Linked DNA regions of Homo sapiens: regions 1, 2, 3, 5, 6 and 7 are each linked to region 4. The links are contacts of gene promoters, found by promoter capture Hi-C in blood cells and fetal thymus (Javierre and others, 2016). All regions are on one chromosome and are shown on one strand. Each heading gives the region's core, a stretch centred on a gene start or on the middle of the fragment in contact. The rest is flanking DNA. Distances are from core to core; before and after follow the strand shown. Region 1 overlaps ANO10 (anoctamin 10). Region 2 has its middle 67 kb from the start of ABHD5. Region 3 holds the start of HIGD1A (HIG1 hypoxia inducible domain family member 1A). Region 4 holds the start of SNRK (SNF related kinase). Region 5 has its middle 25 kb from the start of ANO10. Region 6 overlaps GASK1A (golgi associated kinase 1A). Region 7 overlaps GASK1A (golgi associated kinase 1A).

Evidence for each region. Contacts are between HindIII fragments. The CHiCAGO score rates a contact against its expected background, and 5 or more counts as called.
Region 1: a contact is called between a fragment that was not itself captured here and the fragment with the promoter of SNRK in region 4, in 2 of 17 cell types (megakaryocytes and neutrophils). The highest score is 7.4, in megakaryocytes.
Region 2: a contact is called between a fragment that was not itself captured here and the fragment with the promoter of SNRK in region 4, in 2 of 17 cell types (total CD4 T cells and naive CD8 T cells). The highest score is 5.6, in total CD4 T cells.
Region 3: a fragment that was not itself captured here is called in contact with the fragment with the promoter of SNRK in region 4 in 1 of 17 cell types (neutrophils); the score reaches 5.0 in neutrophils.
Region 5: a contact is called between a fragment that was not itself captured here and the fragment with the promoter of SNRK in region 4, in 1 of 17 cell types (neutrophils). The highest score is 5.3, in neutrophils.
Region 6: a fragment that was not itself captured here is called in contact with the fragment with the promoter of SNRK in region 4 in 3 of 17 cell types (total CD4 T cells, naive CD8 T cells and non-activated CD4 T cells); the score reaches 6.7 in total CD4 T cells.
Region 7: a contact is called between a fragment that was not itself captured here and the fragment with the promoter of SNRK in region 4, in 1 of 17 cell types (naive CD8 T cells). The highest score is 5.5, in naive CD8 T cells.

The regions. Positions count from the first base shown.
Region 1 is chr3:43,541,774-43,544,473 of GRCh38, forward strand. All of the region lies in intron 11 of ANO10 (anoctamin 10), which reads right to left. Among named protein-coding and RNA genes, the nearest start is that of ANO10, 79 kb to the right of the region's middle. The HindIII fragment of the contact is 2,758 bases long and covers 1-2,700 here.
Region 2 is chr3:43,756,091-43,758,790 of GRCh38, forward strand. No RefSeq gene overlaps it. Among named protein-coding and RNA genes, the nearest start is that of ABHD5, 67 kb to the left of the region's middle. The HindIII fragment of the contact is 170 bases long and covers 1,282-1,451 here.
Region 3 is chr3:42,801,836-42,804,620 of GRCh38, forward strand. It overlaps HIGD1A (HIG1 hypoxia inducible domain family member 1A), which reads right to left and starts at 2,655. Exons shown (of 4, transcript NM_014056.4): 1 at 2,601-2,655. RefSeq lists a silencer at 2,611-2,785. The HindIII fragment of the contact is 1,902 bases long and covers 441-2,342 here.
Region 4 is chr3:43,285,046-43,287,831 of GRCh38, forward strand. SNRK (SNF related kinase) reads left to right here and starts at 1,495. Exons shown (of 7, transcript NM_017719.5): 1 at 1,495-1,630. RefSeq lists an enhancer at 1,235-1,735 and silencers at 1,340-1,739, 1,980-2,029. The HindIII fragment of the contact is 7,817 bases long and covers 1-2,786 here.
Region 5 is chr3:43,646,126-43,648,825 of GRCh38, forward strand. It overlaps a transcript of ANO10 not described here. Among named protein-coding and RNA genes, the nearest start is that of ANO10, 25 kb to the left of the region's middle. The HindIII fragment of the contact is 7,613 bases long and covers 1-2,700 here.
Region 6 is chr3:43,005,583-43,008,282 of GRCh38, forward strand. The region is part of intron 1 of GASK1A (golgi associated kinase 1A); the gene reads left to right. Among named protein-coding and RNA genes, the nearest start is that of GASK1A, 28 kb to the left of the region's middle. The HindIII fragment of the contact is 155 bases long and covers 1,348-1,502 here.
Region 7 is chr3:43,025,881-43,028,580 of GRCh38, forward strand. The region is part of intron 1 of GASK1A (golgi associated kinase 1A); the gene reads left to right. Among named protein-coding and RNA genes, the nearest start is that of GASK1A, 48 kb to the left of the region's middle. The HindIII fragment of the contact is 8,406 bases long and covers 1-2,700 here.

The DNA of each region.
Region 1 (2,700 bases), core at 83-2,582, 260 kb after region 4:
TCTCAGGAAGCTCGATCTGGTAATGGAGCCACGTGATTGTCATACAGTTTTAGTAAATGATAACAGTGACTTTCACAAAGGGTCCTAGGTTATCCAAGGATGGAATGGAAGCCAGGGGAAGTGAAGGGGAAGGAGACTAACAAACATCTGGCATTCGACTAACGCATTTCTTCTGTAAGCCATGGACACCCATGTGAGGGCCACAGCGGAAGAGAAATATGATCAGAGTTTCATTTAGGAATAACCACTCCAGCAGTAGAGAGCATGGGCCAAAGGAGGAAAAGCAGGAAAGCCAGAAGGCTTTCCTTCTGTAAAAAAGATCTGCTGTAAAAGTTTAGGTGAGAGCTCCTGAACTGTATGCTTTAAATAAGGGAATTGTATGGTGTGTGAGTTATGCTCACCACAGCTGTTTTAAAAAGTATGTCTAGATGAGAAATGGTAAGAACATGAACTCAGTGACAAGGGAGAGAGCCGAAACAAATATTCAGAAGTCAGAATCAGCAAGTCTTGATGAGGGATGAATGAGAGGGAGGGAGGGCTAGGCTGAGGCGTGGAAGTAAGATCAGCAGAGAGAAGAAAACAGCCATGCCACAGATAGAAGGTACGTAAGAGAGGGAGATAAACATGTAAGCAGCAAACTGTAACACAGACGGAACCAATGCAATGCTATGATGGAGAGCCTGGCCCATGACAACAAATCTAGAGCTGACAGAGTCATATGAACTAATTGCTGAAAGAGGAACTCATTAACAACAGTGGTGCTATAAACTGTTATCAATTTTCCACTTCCTCCTCTGCATCAAACATGGTGCCTGACACTTCTTGTGTACACTACCAATGTCTCCATTTTATATCCAAGGAAACTGAGACTCAAAGATTAAAAGGAAATGCTGGGATTCTAATTCAGTTACCACCAGACTTTGACACCCCAAGCTACCTCTATGCTGTGACACTACCTGCTTAACCAAATAATCATGAAAATGATAATAAAGATAACGAAAGTTTCATTCTGATACTAAGCTGGTTAGAACTGCAGCTCACATCCCCTGTGCCTTGACCAAGTACTCAGCCCTGTGTTTGGCATTTCACATATACAACCTCATCTATGCCTCGCCTTGTGAGAGTGGTAACAAGACCTGCAAATTAGTAAGCACCTGCTCAATACCAGACACATAATCAGAGTTATACATGTGTTATTTCTACTCTTTAGAACACTCATGCAAGGGAGGCTGCACTGGCCTCACTCTGAAGTCAAGGGAATGGGCTCACAAGACAAGGTGATACCCTAAGAGGCAGTATAGGGATAGAATCCACATTTGTATAGTTTCAAATATCTATAAATCTCTCTCTCTTCTCTCCCTCTGTTTCTCTCTCTCCTTCCCTCCCTCTCTCTTAGTTGAGAGAGAGGAAGAACACATGTGTGACAAAATGTTCAAAATCAGTGAATCCTGATAAAGAATATATAGGAATTATCTGTATAATGCTTGCAACTTTCAAATCTGAAACTAGGAAAATAAAGCCTGTGAGTCAGGGCACAAAAGAACCTGGAAAGGCTCAGTTCATTCTCAGAGGATACTTCTGGTATTACAGATAAGACTCAATTCTGCTTCTTTTCTTTTCTTTTTTATTTTTTTGAGACGGAGTCTCGCTCTGTCACCCAGGCTGGAGTGCAGTGGCCGGATCTCAGCTCACTGCAAGCTCTGCCTCCCGAATTCACGACATTCTCCTGCTTCAGCCTCCCAGTAGCTGGGACTACAGGCGCCCGCCACAGCGCCCGCTAATTTTTTTGTATTTTTAGTAGAGACGGGGTTTCACCGTGTTAGCCAGGATGGTCTTGATCTCCTGACCTGTGATCTGCCCGCTTCGGCCTCCCAAAGTGCTAGGATTACAGGCGTGAGCTACTGCGCCCGGCCTCAATTCTGCTTCTAAGCAGCTGCTGGCAGATGGAGAGGGGGTGCCACATGAAAACTTATTTTTTAAAAGAAACTGTAATTAAATGATATTTTTTAAACCACGAATTAAACATGCATGGTACAGGCAGGCTTGGTGGTCACCAGGCCCTAAACATTAGAAATGCAGTGTAATTTCTGGGATGAGTAGTTAACTCGTCTTCACCTTAGAAAAAGAACCAAATTTAGTAGGTAAATTGTCAGTAATTCAACATGTCTGATAGGTACATCTTGCCAAGTTTAGAATTAAAACTGTCAATTAATTTAGAATTAAAACTGTCATTACTAAAATGAAGTATTATCTAAGATTTAATATTTGGAAGATATCAGGCCATTTCTATTTTTTAGAAATTGGAGACATACATAATTCTGCAGGTAAAGTAGTAATCTTTTGCTAAAAATTACATCAAAAAAGCAAACTAAGTTTGCCTCAAAAAGAAGGATGATAATTACTTAAGGGAAATTATTTGAATATTGATTTAATCTTGAGAGCTGAACTTTATGACACCGCCAGTATTTATTTTTAACCCACAAAAAATGGCATTTTCACATGTTTTCATCTATTACATTGGTAGGCTATTCTCTGGTTCAGTCTACAAAAATTTCTTTATTTTGCAAATGAAAGTAGTGTTCAAGTGTCATCAATTTTTAAAGGCAACACTAGATGGCAGTAAATACACAAAAGTTGTGACAAATGACACAGTTCTCATAATACAGCAGTGATCATTTTTGCCTTTACTCAGTTTCATCT
Region 2 (2,700 bases), core at 117-2,616, 470 kb after region 4:
TACTGGTTCTGGTGGGGTGGTTCTCTTTGAGGCAGTTTACACCGTGAACCTGAGTTGAACTCAGGCTCTGGCACTTACAACCAAGTGACCTCGCAGGTCTGTTTTCCCAGAAGCAGACCACTAGATAAACCTTTGCACGAAAGTGTTTCATTGCAGAATACTCCTAGGAAAATACAATAGGGGGACAGGAGAGTGGGGCCAGGAAGGGAAGGAGGCCAGGCAGGGTGCAAAGGGGCAGCATCGAACACAGTCCCATAGAAGGAGGAGGAAAGGCTCCCACTTGGCTCAATTCTGGTGGAGCTCTGGGGTCAGTGGAGACCACACCTGAGTGTGCCTGTCAAAGGCAAGGGAGCTAGAAACATTTATAGCCCTGCACCCAACAGTCTAAGGTTCAGGGCTTACCTGGCACACCTAAATTCCCAAGGACCCCAGACTCTTGTGGGTAGGCAAAGTAGACCCTGGTAGTCAGAGGCAGCTGTTCTCAAAAGTGACAGAAGCCAGGCACATGGGAGTTGTTGTTCACAACACTTGGGCAGTGGCTGAATCTGCTACAAGTGACCTCAAGCAGTTGACTTAGTCCGTAAGACCCATGTGAAAAACGGGGATTATAATGTACCCTCTTCACAGGATTGATGTAAGATCAAATAAGATGATACATAAATGTAAAGCACCCTGACAATTACTGCTCAGACATGGTGAACTCTCACTAAATAATACTATGATTATGCCGAACAATGGCACAAATTTAACTTCTGGATCTGTAGCCTATTAAGTCAACCCACCTTTCTCCTGTCCCCATGAAAGGCATGGCTACTCCATCCTGAAGGACCCTTGCCTTGTCATCCTTGTTGGGGCTGAAATCCTGGTAGCCATCATCAATCTACCTGAGCTGGATGGGAAGTGAAACCATTTACCTGCTCTGAAGTGGAAGGAAACCCTCCCTGTGCAGGTGGCCCGGTTCCTGCTCCCTGAGCCCTTCAGCATGGCTGTTCCTACCTGCCAGTGTGGCTCCTTCAAAGGGTTCCATGCTGAGAGGCTGGCTGCTCATTTTGAAGATGTGGATACCACTCAGATATTTTTGGAACTTGACTTTAAAGCCTGTCTAGTTCATGGAACAGCAACGTCAATCACTTTTTACTGAGCATGTACTACGTGCCACACATTCTACCAAAGGCTTGCTAGGCAATAGTTACTTAATGTTCACAGTACCCTGGGAGGTAGGTGCCACTATCTCCATTTAAAGATTTCCCCTCAGGGATACTGAAGTTGGAGGTCTTAAGAAGCTTCCTTAAAGTCACACACTCAGGAAGAGGCATCTTGTCTACCTCCTTAGCCCACGTTTGGAGTCATGTGCAATTAATCCACTCACTCCTTAAACCTATGCATTCCCATTTGTGCGTATCGAATTTTATAATTATTTCTAATCTGCCTCTAAGATTTAATAGAGGTTAAGCTTTCTATGTGAGCTCACTCTTTCTTTCCTTCTTCTTCTCCTTCTTCCTCTTCCTCTTCCTCCTCTTCTTCTTCTTTTGTTGCTTTAATAAAAGTGTTTAAAATAGCAGTTACCAGAGCTGCTGTTTTCTCTGCCTCTTTCGCCACCAGCCCACTGCCCTCATCACTGATGTTTATCTCGTGAGACCTAGGCCCCAGTTCTTTGCATTTAGAGGAGACAGCCCACAGTCCTGCAGATCTGAGATCTTGCAGCCTTTTTGCAATGACTCTCAGTTCTTACATCTTACATGAGAGTCATAATCCTAGGTCAAAGGTCAGTTCTTACAACTTTCAGTGAGAGTCATAATCCTAGGTCAAAGGTTTTTGGACTCCTTCCTCTCTTAGAGCTCTTCTGCAAATGATTCTTATTTGTGCTCAGCCAAATGTGCCTGTCCTGAAGGAGACAGGTACAGGGAAAAGAACAATGACTGCTTCTGCCTTGCTTGGCCCCCTGGAAGTGCAAAAAAGCTTAAGGTGTCACCAGCTCTGCAGTCCACACCAGCCTCTTCCTTGCCAGTTAATGGCATCTGTTCACCAACCAGCAGCAACCAGCTCATACCTCAGCCATTCTCCTTTCTTTTCTGCATTCTGAACACCAAGTGCAGAGACTCTGCACTTTTTCCATCTTCTGCACATGATATTTTCACAATGTACCAAAGTTCATTGTGGGCAGAGACTGTGTCTTAGTAAACACTATAAGAAACAGTGTATAAAGCACCAAGACAAAATTAAAAAAAAAAAGAAAAAAGAAGAACTAAGATATGGGCCCTACCTATCTGGAAGCCAGGTTTGCTGACCAAAGAACTCCCCCTGTGCCAGAGAGACAAGTCAACAGTGATGCTTGTGGAATTCTCTGGTCCCACCATGTTCCTGATTATCCACAAGAATCCTCCCCTTCAGTAGCAGCTGTGGAAGGGGGCCCATGCTGCCATGTAACCTTGGATGAAGTTTGCTCTGGATTAAGGGGCTGTTCTGGAGATTTATCAACCTCACCCCCTTCCAAATGGAAAGTGTTTTTGAACTTGCCTTGCTTGAATTGCATTATTGTATTTAGGATGTGTTAGTGAGGACTGTTGTTACAATCAGGTTGCAAAATTATGAGGAGGAAACACAAGGCTTGACTGTTACAGAACCAGGGAGAAACAGATTCCACTGGAGATTGTGGACTCTGAGAAAAATGGTTAACAAGGTCATCTCTGGGTGTAGTCA
Region 3 (2,785 bases), core at 142-2,641, 480 kb before region 4:
AACTAAAAAATCATTTGGGAATTGTCTTTAAAAGCAAGAAAGTTGGTAGCCGGGCATGGTGGTGCACACCTGTAGTCCCAGCTCCTCAGGAGGCTGAGGCAGGAGGGCTGCTTGAGCCTGGAAAGTGGAGGTTGCGGTGAGCCATGATCCAGCCACTGCACTCCAGCCGGGGCAACAGGCAAGACCCTTGCTGAGGGACCCAACAAACAAACAAAAACAGGACATAAATCGTTTTTTAAAAATAGCAAGAAAGTTGGTAGTTTTTCTTATAATTATCTCACATCTGGCTGACTCTAATTCTCCAACAGGTCAATGGAGCAAAAGGTTTTTTTTTTTTTCTCCTTTCAGGAGGGAGGGGGTTAGTTGTCTCTTTCCTGTATATAAATCAAGAACAGAAGAAAACCTATTTCTCCGTTCTTCATCTATGATACAGACTCTGAAGCTTGTATGGATAGGGCATTTGACCTGGGTTTCAGAAAGTAGCCCCTGCGGTAAGCATCAGGGTGTGGGGAACAAAATGGTCATTATTTGCTTGAAACGACAGATGATAATCTGTCTGTGATTCCAGAATACCTTATGTGTACATTTCAGAATAAAATTAGTAAGGATTAATATTTAAAAATCCAACACATATCAGTTATTTGTTATTCTGTAGTCAAAATATTATAATTCCCATATAGTACATATCTAAAATACTCTCTGAATACAAAATTTTGATAACTGTCTAATTACCACGTAGAAGTTTCCAAAGTATTCATGGTTTATAGCCACCTGAATTGAAAACTGGTTAAGTATCAGGAACAATAAGTTCTAATCATATAATTTGAGAGTAACAAATCAGATGAATAATCCAAGCCAATAGCCTTATTTTACAGGTGGGGAAAGGGTTGTGAGAGGGTTATACGAATTGCTCAGTACAAGGAATACATGTCTGGTGGGGTAGGATTAGAATCCAGCTCTTCTGATAGAGAGTCCTGGGTTCTTTTGATTGACGATATATTGCCAAAGCATCAATCTTACGCTGCTGATGTAAATTAGATTAAATTGGCAGATAAGAATTCTGATTAGAAAATTTAAGAATCCATTACTCAACAGAAGCCCACGTTGTTCTCTTTGAATGATATATATAAAAAAATCATGCCTAAGGTAAACGGAATCTTCTTCAGTGACTTAACTCATCTAACAATTTCAATTGTGATTTGAAAAGACTTTTTTCACTACACCACTGCCAGACTTTCCTTCATTATCGTTTTCTCATCCACCCACAGTAGTTGTCCCAGATTTCTGTCAGAAAGTTGAATAGACGCTAAAAAAGGCACCAGTAACCAGATATTTAAAGTCAGTTTGGAGAGCACAAATTAATTCTGTACGCTTAGTAAGACACGACTGAAGACCTTTCCACAGGGAACCTAAAGAGGCATTAAGGGAAGATGAGCCGTCCAGCATCAGGAGACGTAACAGGTTGAATGAAGGATCTTTCTTCACAGTCATTTTGTCACGGGAATTACTATCTAAAGCAACGCTGGCTTCAAACTGATTTTGCATCAGTCGCCCATCAGCTTGTTTAAAATGGCTGCCAAGGCCCCAGCATGGAGATCCGGATTCAGGTGGTCTGGGGCAGAGCTCAAGGAATCTTTAAGAAGCCCCTTCAAGTGACTCTGGTGCACAAAGAGAACTCCTAGTATACAGGACTCCAAATATGTGTGTCATGCTGGAGCTTCATGACCAGGTTGTCACCGCTTCAACCTGTTAGAACTTTCCATCCAAACCTGTCTTACTCCAAAGTGCCTTTGTACTTCCGGAAGCAGGGATCCCTGTCGTGGGGATTACTCCGAAGAGGGAAATAGCTGCTTCCCACTCCGGGAATTTAAGACAAAGGCGAATATCACTGCTGCATCATGTCGGCTGCTCCTAATTCTGCCCTTACGCTGTGCTTTGTAATCTCTAACCCGCCGACTCGGCAGGAGAAAAATTTAATTCGGTCACAGAAGCACTACACAGGACCCTAGGCCTTATCACTTTCCCAGGGTGGAGGAAACACCAGGTCGGGGAGAAAAGCAAGACCAGGACTGGAAGGTCCTCTGCTAGTACGCCCTCCCCTCAACCTCCCGACCTTCCTCGCCGCCTCTCTTCCTGTGACCTTGTCGTGACTCCGTGACCGGAGCGCTCGCTCTCCTATCCCGCCTCGCCTGCCGCTTAGCCCGCTCTTCAGAATGTTCCAAGCTCCGGGGAAGCTCCCGCTCCTCGCTCCCCGCCGTCGGGCCCAGTCAACACCCTCCTGGCCCCCGTCTCTCATTACCACCCCATCAGCGAGTCTTCCCCGCTCGGCAACTCACTCCACAAGCTTCTGCTCCATCTCCTCGCTGGCTCCGTCTCCCCTCACCCGAAGGACCCTAGGCCTCGGCTCCCGACTCCTCTCATCCGCCCATGCTCGAGGCCGGGCCTGAGCCCCGGCAACTCCACCTCTCCTCCCTCATTCGAGACACGGACTCCCAGCCCCCACCCCCAAAGTCCTTTCGGCCTGGCCAAGCGCTGCCCCACTTCTTCCCGCCCCGCGGCCCGAGTCCCTGGCTCGCAGTCCCCCGGCTTGTTTCGCTTACCTAGAGCGAGAAAACCTCTCACACCCCAACCGGCTTCCGATCCCTGCAGGCGCACCCAGTCCTCCCGGCTTCTCCCCACCCACAGCCGTCCCAGCCAATCAGAGGCCAGCGGCCGCAAAAGGACGCGTGCGTGTGCGCGGCGGGTGGGGCAGTGCAGAGCGGGTCCTGGATTGGCTGGGCCGGTG
Region 4 (2,786 bases), core at 245-2,744:
CCCTTGGGAGACCATTACAGTGGTATTTTCTCCCTTTAGTTGGCTACAGAGTTCCCTGAATAGTGATATCTCCCTGAGGAGAAAAGTGCATGGTCTTCCTGATTTCTAGCAACAAAAGGACAAATTCTACAAATCCAAGTTAGGAGCTCTTGCTTAATATGCTGCTACAGTTACGATTTCCATGTCAAAATGAGATGACTCTTTTATGGTCTTTTCAGGTCAGAGTGATCCCAGGTGGGACCCTAAGGCGCAGAGGCCTAATCTGAGGCTTTCCCTGGTGCTCTCCCACCACCTGATGCAAGGGTATTAGGGTAACTGGGAGTCCCCTTGATCAGAAAACCCTATGTTATTACCCTAAGAATCAAACTGTTTGCACCTCCCAACAATCCACTCCTGCTTCCCAATCATCTTCAGACATGCAAAGTTGATGCATAGAAGCTAAAAGGCTTTTGACATTTGCAGGTCAACAGAGATTTGCTAAAACCATCTAGATTTCTCTTCGCAGTCCAGTCAATTCAACCAAGCCTGCAGCATCTCCGCAGCTCTTCTGGCTTGTGTCCTTCCTTGCTAGGGGTCCTTTCTTGGGGAAGGGTGGACACAACGTGGGAACAGAAGGGGAAAAGCAGGTTGAAGAAATCTGGCGTCTGGTTTGTTGGTGTTCCCTTCCAGGAACCCTGAAGAGCTGGTCTCTATTGCATGCCATGCTTCCAGGGGTGGGAGTCGGGAGTCCCCTCCCACCCTCTGCGGCCATCCCTAAGCTCCCTTCCAGAGCAACCTGGCCTGGCGACCATACCACTGAACCATCAAGGGCTATGGTTAATGCCCGGCGTGTTTTGAATCTCTGACTTCACGTGCTTTGATGTGTCCCCACGACCGTTTACTTTTCTATGCTGTTGCCAGAGGCTGCCTAGCAGGGCCTGTGTCTCCCGCTGACCTTTAAGGCCAGCACTGCATTCAGATGTTGGGCTTTTCCAATTTTGCTTAAATAACAACAAAATCAACCGAATTTTTTCAAATTAGAGTCCCAGGGAGAAGAAACTACAGAGAAAAAAATCATATTATGTATATATATGTATATACATATGTGCATGTGTGTATGTATATGTATTTTTACAATTTTTTTATCCTTGTTTAAACCTGGGCGGGAACCAAAGAGTAAAGCGCGTGCGGCTCCCTGCCCCCTGCCGCCAAGACGCAGTCCTGTACAGACGCGGTCCCTTCCCTCCGATTTCCCCTGACAGCTCGCGCTACTTTTTCCCGGCCATTGTTCCGTGTCCCTGGTGCTTCCTCCTCCCCCGTCCTCCATCCTCCTTGGGCGCCTTGCCCGCTTTGTCCCGCCAGCCGCCTCAGCCCCGACTCGCCGGGGTCAGAAAGCCGCCAGGATGCCCTCCAGCAGCCCGCGCGCCGGCCGCAGGTGCGCGCCGCCCCGCCCTGCCCTTCCCGCGGCCCCGCCCCAGCGCTGACGTCACAGTGACGCGCAGCCCGCGCAGGCGCAGCTACCCGGCACCCCCTCCCCGCGGCCGGCAGCCCGCTCGGTATTATGATTAGCGCTGGGTGCGGGGTTTCGGCGGCCGGGAGGGAGTTGTCGGCGCCGCGGCCGCTGCGGACGGACGCTCGCCTGCCGGCTGAGGTAGGGGCGAGCGCGGAGCGCGGCGGGGCGCGGCGGCCGTAGGCAGGGGTGCGGGGCCGGCCTCCGCCGCCTCAGTAGCCTCCGCTGTTGCCGGGCTGGGCGCCCGGGCCGGGGCGCTCGCCGCAGGCGGAAAGTAAGTTGCGCTCTCGGCGCCGGCCGCAGCGCGCGGCCCGGGAGGACGCGGGGCCCGGGCTGCGGTGGCCCGGACCCCGCGGCGCGGCCTGGCGGCGGGGCGGCGGCGGGGCCCGGCGGGAGCCGTCACTGCGGCGGCGGCCGCGGTCGCCTGGAGGCCCTGCCCTTGCGGCCGCGGCGGGATTGCGGCACCTCGGAAGGCGCCCGCATCCCCGCGCCCCGCCCCGGAGCGGGCCGAGTGCGGCGCCCGCGGGGCCCCGCGCCCTGGGCGCTTGGTAGGGTGTGTGTTCTTTGAATGCGTTTTCCCCTTTCAGAAGACTGTAGAAATCCGGCCTCAGCAAAAGGGTTCCGTGGTCAAACTGCTTTACAATAGAGTGGGGATGTTGTCTGTAGAGAAAGGGCAAAGGGGTAAGGAAAGAGGAGCAGTGCCATTCCCGAGGGAGAGCTAGAATTTTTGCAGACTGGGAGACTGGGAAATCTACGTTCTTTTCCATAGTCATCGCCTGTTGATTTCTTTCTGGTCCATTTTACAGGGACCTTCCTGCCTTTTACTTGGACTTGGGTTGCAGGAAAGTGGCAGCCTTTTATCTTCGGGGTTCTTGGAGCTGTGCTATTTGTAACTGTTGGATCGCATACAGTCCAGTAGTTTCATAGGGAGTTTCAGGCTTTGGGGAGAATTTAGCAGTGGAGTTCCTAAATCTATAGAGGTCTGAGGATATGGGACCTTTCAAACTGTCATGTTACTTTCCACCCCCCTTCCCTTTAATTATGTGCATTCTTAAAGTCTTAGGAACCGTGGTAAAGTTGACTTAATGCCTTAAACATTTTGTCAGGTTTTAAGGTGAAGCATGGCTTGCAAGTGTTGGACATCCTGTTGAATCTCCACCAAGTTCCTATCAAACATGAAATGCCTGAGTTTGGGCTCCTTGTATGGGATTGGAGCACTATGTCCCAAACCAGTCTTTAACTTATCAGAATATATACAGCAGTGTACTTTAAAGCCCGGGTTGTCAAGGCTTATGTA
Region 5 (2,700 bases), core at 85-2,584, 360 kb after region 4:
CTTAGTTGACTAGTGGAAAACGTCTGTGGGAAGTTTCTTATTTTTCTGCAGAGTCATGTTCAAAGTTATAGATTAGCTTGTTTTAGTATGTAAATTTTAGTTGTTTTACTCTGATACAATGTGAAAACAAAAGATTCGAGGAGTTCTAATTCCCATGCTTCTAAGAGGGGACTCTTTCCACTTCCCTATTTTGAGCAGGGATGATGAGGAGGAGGGAGAGTAGACCAAGGGCACACTTCTGCCTGCTACCTGTCCTGATCCTTGTATATGCTCATTGTAACAGCATGTGTGGCTGAGATTGTGAATTCGTCTTTGAGTTAGAGAACTAAGATAACAAATTTATGGTGGAAGGAGCCTTAGAAGACAGAGCCATGGTTATGGTCATGCTGAGTCAGTAGTCTCTACTTTTTGTTTGTTTGTTTTTGAGACGGAGTCTTGCTCTGATGCCCAGGCTGGAGTGCAGTGGTGCAATCCTGACTCACTGCAACTTCCACCTCAGCCTCCTGAGTGGCTGGGATTACACGTGCCTGCCACCACACCACGCCCAGTTAATTTTTGTATTTTAGTAGAGACAAGGTTTCACCATGTTGGCCAAGCTGGTCTTGAACTCCTGACCTCAGGTGATCTGCCTGCCTCAGCCTCCCAAAATGCTGGGATTACAGGTGTGAGCCACCACACCTGGCCTCTTCTTTCTTTACATAGACTCATATGACTGTTTACTTCTAGTTCGGTTCTAAAATGAGAAATTTGTGCTGGTCACACAAACTGTCCCTTTCAAGTATTATGGAGTCATCCCTGAAGGTGGGGGTACAACATCTGGAAGGTAAAGACTGGCTTGTTGTGAAAAGCGGGAAAGAAAAGCACCCTCCCTTCCCAAAGAAGAAAATTCTCTTCGACCTTCCAACTGTTAAGGTCTGGAAGTCTGCCATTGGAGTATGATTCCTTTGATTTATGGGTCCAGTCCAGAAGACTGGATGTATTAGTGTGGATTCTTCAAAGAACCAGAACCAAAAAGATATGTGTATATATGTGTGTGTGTGTGTGTGTGTGTGTGTGTGTGTGTGTGTATTCTATACCCATAGATAAATAGATAGATAAGAGATTTATTATGGGAATTGATTCACATGATTATGGAGGGTGAGAAATCTCATGATCTGCTGTCTGCAAGTTGGAGAATTAGGAAAGCCAGTGGTGTGTGTTGGGGAGTTGGGGGAGCGCTGGTATAAGCCCCAGAGTCTGAAGGCTTGAGAACCTGGGGCTTAGATGTCCGAGGGCAGAAGATGGCTGTCTCAGCTCCAGAAGAGAGAGTGAATTCACCCTCCTCCCACAGTTTTATTCTCTCTAGGCCCTCAACGGCTTGGGTGATGCCCACACACCTTGGTGAGAGCAAATTCCTCTCTACTCAGACTACTGATTCAAATGTTAATCTCTTCTGGAAACATCCTCTCAGGCACACCCAGAAATAATGTTTAACCAGCTTTCTGGATATCCTTTAACCCAGTGAAGTTAAGACATAAAATTAACCATCATATTACACTACTCTGTATTCGAAGTATTCAAATCCTTTTACTGTCTAATTCTAATTACTTTTCAGCCATATCCCCATGGGCTCTGGAAGGAGACAGATTGCAGAGTTTAGGATTCTGATGCAATCACTTAACAGTAGTGTGACATAGATAGACTAAACCTTTCTGGGTTTCAGTTACTTCATTTGTAAAGGGGTAACAATAGCTCAGAATTCATAGGTTTATGTAGGGATTAAACAAGTTTAAATACATGAACAGTGATTAGCATAGCTGTGGCCTCAACTACTACTATTACCATTAAAGGCCCTCATCTCTCTACTTTGGCTGTCGTGCCCAACTCATTGTTACATTCTTTCTTCACCTCTCTCAAGGGAACCAACCTCCATCTAGGTTACTTGTTACAGCCAGGCTGAAGCCCAGGAGACCTTCTCTTACCTATCCAAGTTTCCAGAATCTCACCCTCCTCTGGGCTCCTCACGTATAAAGTTTTATACTTTATTCACATAAATACAAAATAAAAATGCATTCATTAACTTTTCAACCTGAATTTCTAACCTTGAGGCAGGTCAGACTAGCTTAAATCCAGGGAAGACAAACATTTGGAGGTGGAAAATTTCATCTTCTGCCAATGGGCAGGGAGAAAGTGGCCCTGTTACAGGAAAGAGGTCTGGATCCAAACCCCAAGAGAGGGTTCTTGGATCTTGCCAAGAAAGAGTTCAGGGCGAGTCCATAGAGTAAAGTGAAAGCAAGTCTATTAAGAAAGTAGAGGAATAAAATAATGGCTACTCTATAGACAGAGTAGCCCCAAGGGCTGCTGCTTGCCCATTTTTATGGTTATTCATTGATTATATGCTAAACAAGGAGATTATTCATGCCTCCCCTTTTTAGACCATACAGGGTAATTTCTTGACATTGCCATGGCACTTGTAAACTGTCATGGTGCTGGTGGGAGTGTAGCGGTGAGGGTGATCGATCGGAGGTCACTCTCGTGGCCTTCTTGGTTTTGGTGGGTTTTAGCCCGCTTTTTTTTTTTTTTTTTTTTTAAGATGGAGTCTGGCTCTGTCGCCCAGGCTGGAGTGCAGTGGCGTGATCTTGCCTCACTGCAAGCTCCGCTTCCCGGGTTCACGCCATTCTTCTGCCTCAGCCTCCCGAGTAGCTGGAACTATAGGCGCCC
Region 6 (2,700 bases), core at 175-2,674, 280 kb before region 4:
TTCATCATGGCCCAAAGTGCAAGAGTAGTGATCCTGCAATTGGAGTGTGACAAAGAGACGCTGAAAGTGCTTCATTTAAGTGAGAAGATGAAAGTTTCTCTACTTAAGAAAAAAAAATCGTAGGCTGGGGTTGCTAAGATCTGCAGTAAGAATGAATCTGCTATCTGTGAAATTGTCTTCTGAAGAAAGAGAAATTCATGCTAGTTTTGCTGCTGCACCTCAAACTGTGGCAAAAGTTACAGCCAAAGTGTGTGATAAGTGCTTCATTAAGATGGAAAAGGCATTCAATTTGTGGGTGGAAGACATGAACTTCTAGAAATGTGTTCTGATTTATGGCAATGGGATTTGGTACTGTCCAAGGTTTCAGGCATCCGCTGGGGGGCTTGGAACGTATCTTCCAAGGATAAGGGGTAGGGACTGCTGTATTATATTATGATCACCTTTCCTTTCCTGGGCACCTTTCTGTTTCTCTCTAGTTAGTAATCATCTTTTTTGTTTCCTTAGTTTTTTTCATGTACTTATCACAAGCCAACTTCCTCTTAATAGACTCAAGCACACATCAATTTCTTTCTTTGGAAACCCCCTGCCCAGAGCCTTTTGACCTGCTCCTTCTGAGCTGGTCGCTTTCTTGGTCGGTGCACAGCCGTTGGCTTAGGATCCTCCTTTCCCAGCATCCCACGAGTCTCTTTGCCTCTCTTGTTTTGCATCTTTGTTTCCTGCATCCCATGTCTTCCTCTTTCTTGGCTTACCTCCTGGTTTTAGTGGAGTAATTTAACCAATAGCTTGTTAAAAGTGACTACAGGAGGGGTAAACCATGTTGAAATGTTATATGCCTGAAATTGCCTTCATTCTACCCTCATATTTGATTGATAGTTTGGCTTGAGTATAGAATTAAAAGAAATAATTTTCTGTCAGATTTTGAAGGCTTTGCTCAATGGTGCTCTAGCCTCGGGTATTGTAGTAAAGAAGTCCACAGCCATTCTGATTCTTGATTACTTGGTATAAAACTTGTTTTATTTTTTTCTCCCTTTCTCTCTGGAAACTTGGAGGATATTTTCCCCAGTGTTCTGAAGCTTTACAATGATGTGCCTTGGTTTGTCTTAACCTGGTTTTCTAATAACAGAGCCCGAGGCTGGAGGCTTATGTGCTGTTATTTGGGAGTACAATCTCAGGAAACACCCAAAGAGAAGCAGGGAAACAGGAGAGATGATATGGCGATGTATTATCAAGCTGGCTGCTGCTACAGGCAATTGATTGTGTGATCCTATGGACCTATCCAAGAAGCTGCATAAATTGAATTCAGGACCACTTGAATTTACCCACTGTCTTCAGTCTCCCAATGATCAAAGCTTTGCTCCACTCGACATAAGTTTCCCTATACTTCCGGGTTGTGTACCCCTCAGTATCACACACCTGATAGTCATAGGAGAGCAGGTGAGAGGCACAGCACTGCCAAGTGGTGAAGCTCAGGATAGGTGGCCCCAAGCAGCCATTGCTATTGAAGCTTTTGCTTTTAATGGCTGCAGCAACAAACTGTCTCCATGACCATGGAAACAGGACATACTGTTGCTAGTGGGTGATCTCATCAAAATACAAGTGTGTGGGGCAATTGCAAATATCTGAATTCCATACCACTAAGGTCTCACTTTTTAGCCATTGTGTTGGATACTTGGGGGGCCCTTGCAATATTTCAATGTTCAGCATGTAAATGTTCTCTTAAAACTCCTGTTTTCAGTATAGTCCCCACTGCCCTCAACTGTCCCAGGTGTCTCCCAGCATGTAGCTTCCCTAGCTTTCTCTCTCCATAGAACAAACTTTCAGTCTTCTGCTGGGTGCAGGAGGGGCAGCTGCCTGACTTCACAGTATGGAGATCTGGGTGTCTAGCTTCTTCTTAAGTCGACTTTCAGCCAATCCTTTTGTTTTTTATCCTATCAGCACCAGTCCTTTACCTGTTGGGGGCTCCCTTGGTGTAAATCATGTTGAGTTTTGACCTGCCTTCTAGTTTAGGATTCAGCTTTCATGAGTCTGCTCAGGCCATTGCTACTCATTCACCTGCTTTCCAGCTTCCTGAATTTTGCTTTTATGGTTGACTGCTTTCCTGTTCTCTTTATCCTTAGAGGTTTGTTCTTTAAAAATAAGAACACTTTACTGTTATTTTCATATTTCAGGAGGAAAGAAAGAGAATAGCAGGTGCTTAGTCTACCATTTTTAGCTGAACAACAGCATTACTTTTCTAAATCAAATTGTCTGGCTCCAAGCCTGTCCTCACCTAGGTGACCTGATATCAGTCAGACAGCCCAGCTCAATTTACCTTTAGGAGCCTTGGTTGGCTTTTAAAGCAAAGGCCTTTTTATTCTATCCTGGGGCAGGAAGAGGATGGCTTCCAGCTCTCCGGGTTTGCTTGCTTGCTTGCTTGCTTGGAGAAGAAAGGCAGGTGGAGAAACAACTCTTATTCTTTTAGGCTTCTATAATAGCAGGGTCAAAACTCCGGCTAATAAACTGATGGAGTTAGCTAGACCTGGGTTTGAGTCTAACTCTGCCACTTAGCTATGAGGCTGTAAGAAACTGACATAAGCTGTCTATGCCTCAGTTTCCTCAGCTTCCCAATGTGAGGAATGATACCTCCCTTCCAGGGAGGTTGCAGGAAGTAGAGGAACTGTCTTATCAGGTACCTGGCACAGGGTCTGGCATGGGAGATGC
Region 7 (2,700 bases), core at 13-2,512, 260 kb before region 4:
AAAGAAGATGGAAGACAAAATGCAAATTCCTTTTTCAGATAAATTAGGAGGCAGTCACCAAAATACTTGGGAACAGCGTAAGAAGCAGCCAGTTTCATGCAGGTGCAGTGTTGGAGGAAGTGAGAAAGAGTGGAAGAGGGAGCCCAAGTTGGCAGATCTCAGAAAGCACCAATGAAATATGCCGGAAGGTGAGTGACACACCTGAGGAGCAGAATCACCATCCCCCGCTTGTCTGCAAAAGAGGGTGTGGAAATGGGATGGGGGCAAGTTTAGTGGCTCAGAGGATCCAGCTGGACTATTGGGATTAGAAAAGCAGAGGACACTGTGATACATAAAGAGCCATGCCAACAAGCCATATTTGCAGGATGCAGCCTGGTCATGGGGTAGATGAGAAGAAGAAAGCATCTGCATCATGAAAACCGGTTGATTTCAAATTCCACCGGGGTTCTACAGGAACCTCTTTCAATTGACTGGTCCAACTCATACAATAAAAACAGTCCAGCATCTATGCAGAGATACTGTGAGAAAAAAGGAGACAAAGAACAGCAATGTTTCTTAACAGATGAGGGCTGGCCACCTGAAAATATTACCTGGAGACAGTGGAATTTTGAGCAATCTTATCACAATGAATTTTTAAAACTTAAAGTACCCTCTGTGAATAAATACCACAAAGCAGAAATGCAAGAACTCAAGAAAAAATGGTAAAATGGAAAGATGTGAAATATGAGCTGGAAAGAAGTAGGGAAAAGTGGAAAATAACAGAAAGGGTGAATAAATATTAGGTAAAACACAGTAAGTCAAATAGAGTATAAAAACAAGAACAGTGAACAAAATGAAATGAAAATAGTTAGAAAGGATTAAAGAGAAGGTAAGAAACATATAAGGAAGATAAAGGAGAGCCACCGTGTACATAATTGAAGAGCCTAAAGAAAAAAGTAAAATAAAGTCATGGAATGGAAGAAATATTTAATATTTAGCTCAAGAAAATTCTCATGAAATAAAAAGACTTGTGTTTACCTTTTCTAATAGGGCATATTGCACGCCAAGAAAAGCTGACCCGAAACAGTCAACACTGATAGATCTTAGGAATGTTACTGGATGTTAAAGAAAAAGAAAGAATTCTTAGGGCAGCCAGGCAGGGTAAAAAATCAGTTCAATCTTAGATTTCCCTTAACCTTACAAAACAGTGGAGCAGAACCCATAAGCTATTCAAAGAAAGAAACTGTAAGCCAAGTATTTTCTATGTAGGCAACTTTACTTCATGTATGAATGCTGTAGAAAACAGTTGGAACATGCAAGAAATCAGAGAATATTGTTCCCATGTGAATTTCAGTCAACCAAGAAATAATGGGAAACTGGGTCCAAAGGGACAAGAGTGTGCATACAATATATTAACTGAATAACTAAGACCTGAACAAATGTGGGTATTAGAGAGATGGAATCGAATGTATACGCTTCCTATTGTACCAATGCGTATGACACAAATATAAACAATTGGATGGGGGATGAAGGCAAAAGGTGGGAGAAAGAATTAATATGCTGTTTATTTCATTAATAATAGCAGAGAACTAAAGAATATCATTTAAAGCTGAGAAATATATAGAAATGTAAACACATTTAATTGTACAAAGATAAACATTTAAAAAGATAATACTAGTTATGAAAATTGAATGGTAGAGGAAAGGGAGGGCAAGGAGGGGGAAGAGGAAATAATTTTAATATTGTTCTTTTTAGGGGATTAAGAGCTACAGTCTAAAGAACCAGACAATTAAGGGCATACAATAATAAAGGTAATAATTAGGACCCAAATCAAAATTTCCTAAATATTATAAGAAATATACACCAAAAGACAAAGTAAAAGTAAGAGAAAAGAAAACATAGTACAAGACTTCAAATATTATAAATATTGTTGATGAAAAGGTCAAACTGTAAAATATTTGAAGAGATTTATTCTGAGCCAAATATGAGTGACCAATGGCCTGTGACACAGCCCTCAGGAGATCCTGAGAACAGGTGATCAGACTACAACTTGGTTTTATACATTTTAAGGAGACATAAGACATCAATCAATACATTTAAGAGGTACATTGCTTTGGTCCAGAAAGGAAGGACAACTGGAAGCAGGGGTTCCTGGGTCATAGGTAGATTCAAAGATTCTCTGATTGGTAATTGATTGAAAGAGTTAAGTTATTGTCTAAAGACTTAGAATCAATAGAAAGGAATGTCTGGGTTAAGATAAGGGCTTGTGGAGACCAAGGCTTTATCATGCAGTTGGAGCCTCTAGGTAGCTGGCTTGAGGAAATAGACTGTAAATGTTTCTTATCAGACATAAAGAGGCTGTTCTAACAGTCTTAAGGTCTGTGTTGATGTCAATGCTGGTCAGCTGGGCCTAAATTTCAAAAGGGAGGACGGTATAATGAGGCATGTCTGGCTTCCTCTTCCCATCATGGCCTGAACCAGTTTTTCAGGTTAACTTTGGAAGGCCCTTGGCCAAAAGGAGGGGTCCATTCAGATGGTCAGGGGGCTTAGAATTTTATTTTGAATTTACAATACAGAAAATATACCATAAAATATTACAACAGAACTAAGACTAAATATGTATGGCATATCAAGTAATGTAAATTAGCTAAACCCACCTAATGAAAGAACACAGAGCTCTCTTGGTGGAAGTGTATGTGTGTGTGGGTGGGGGTGGCAAGT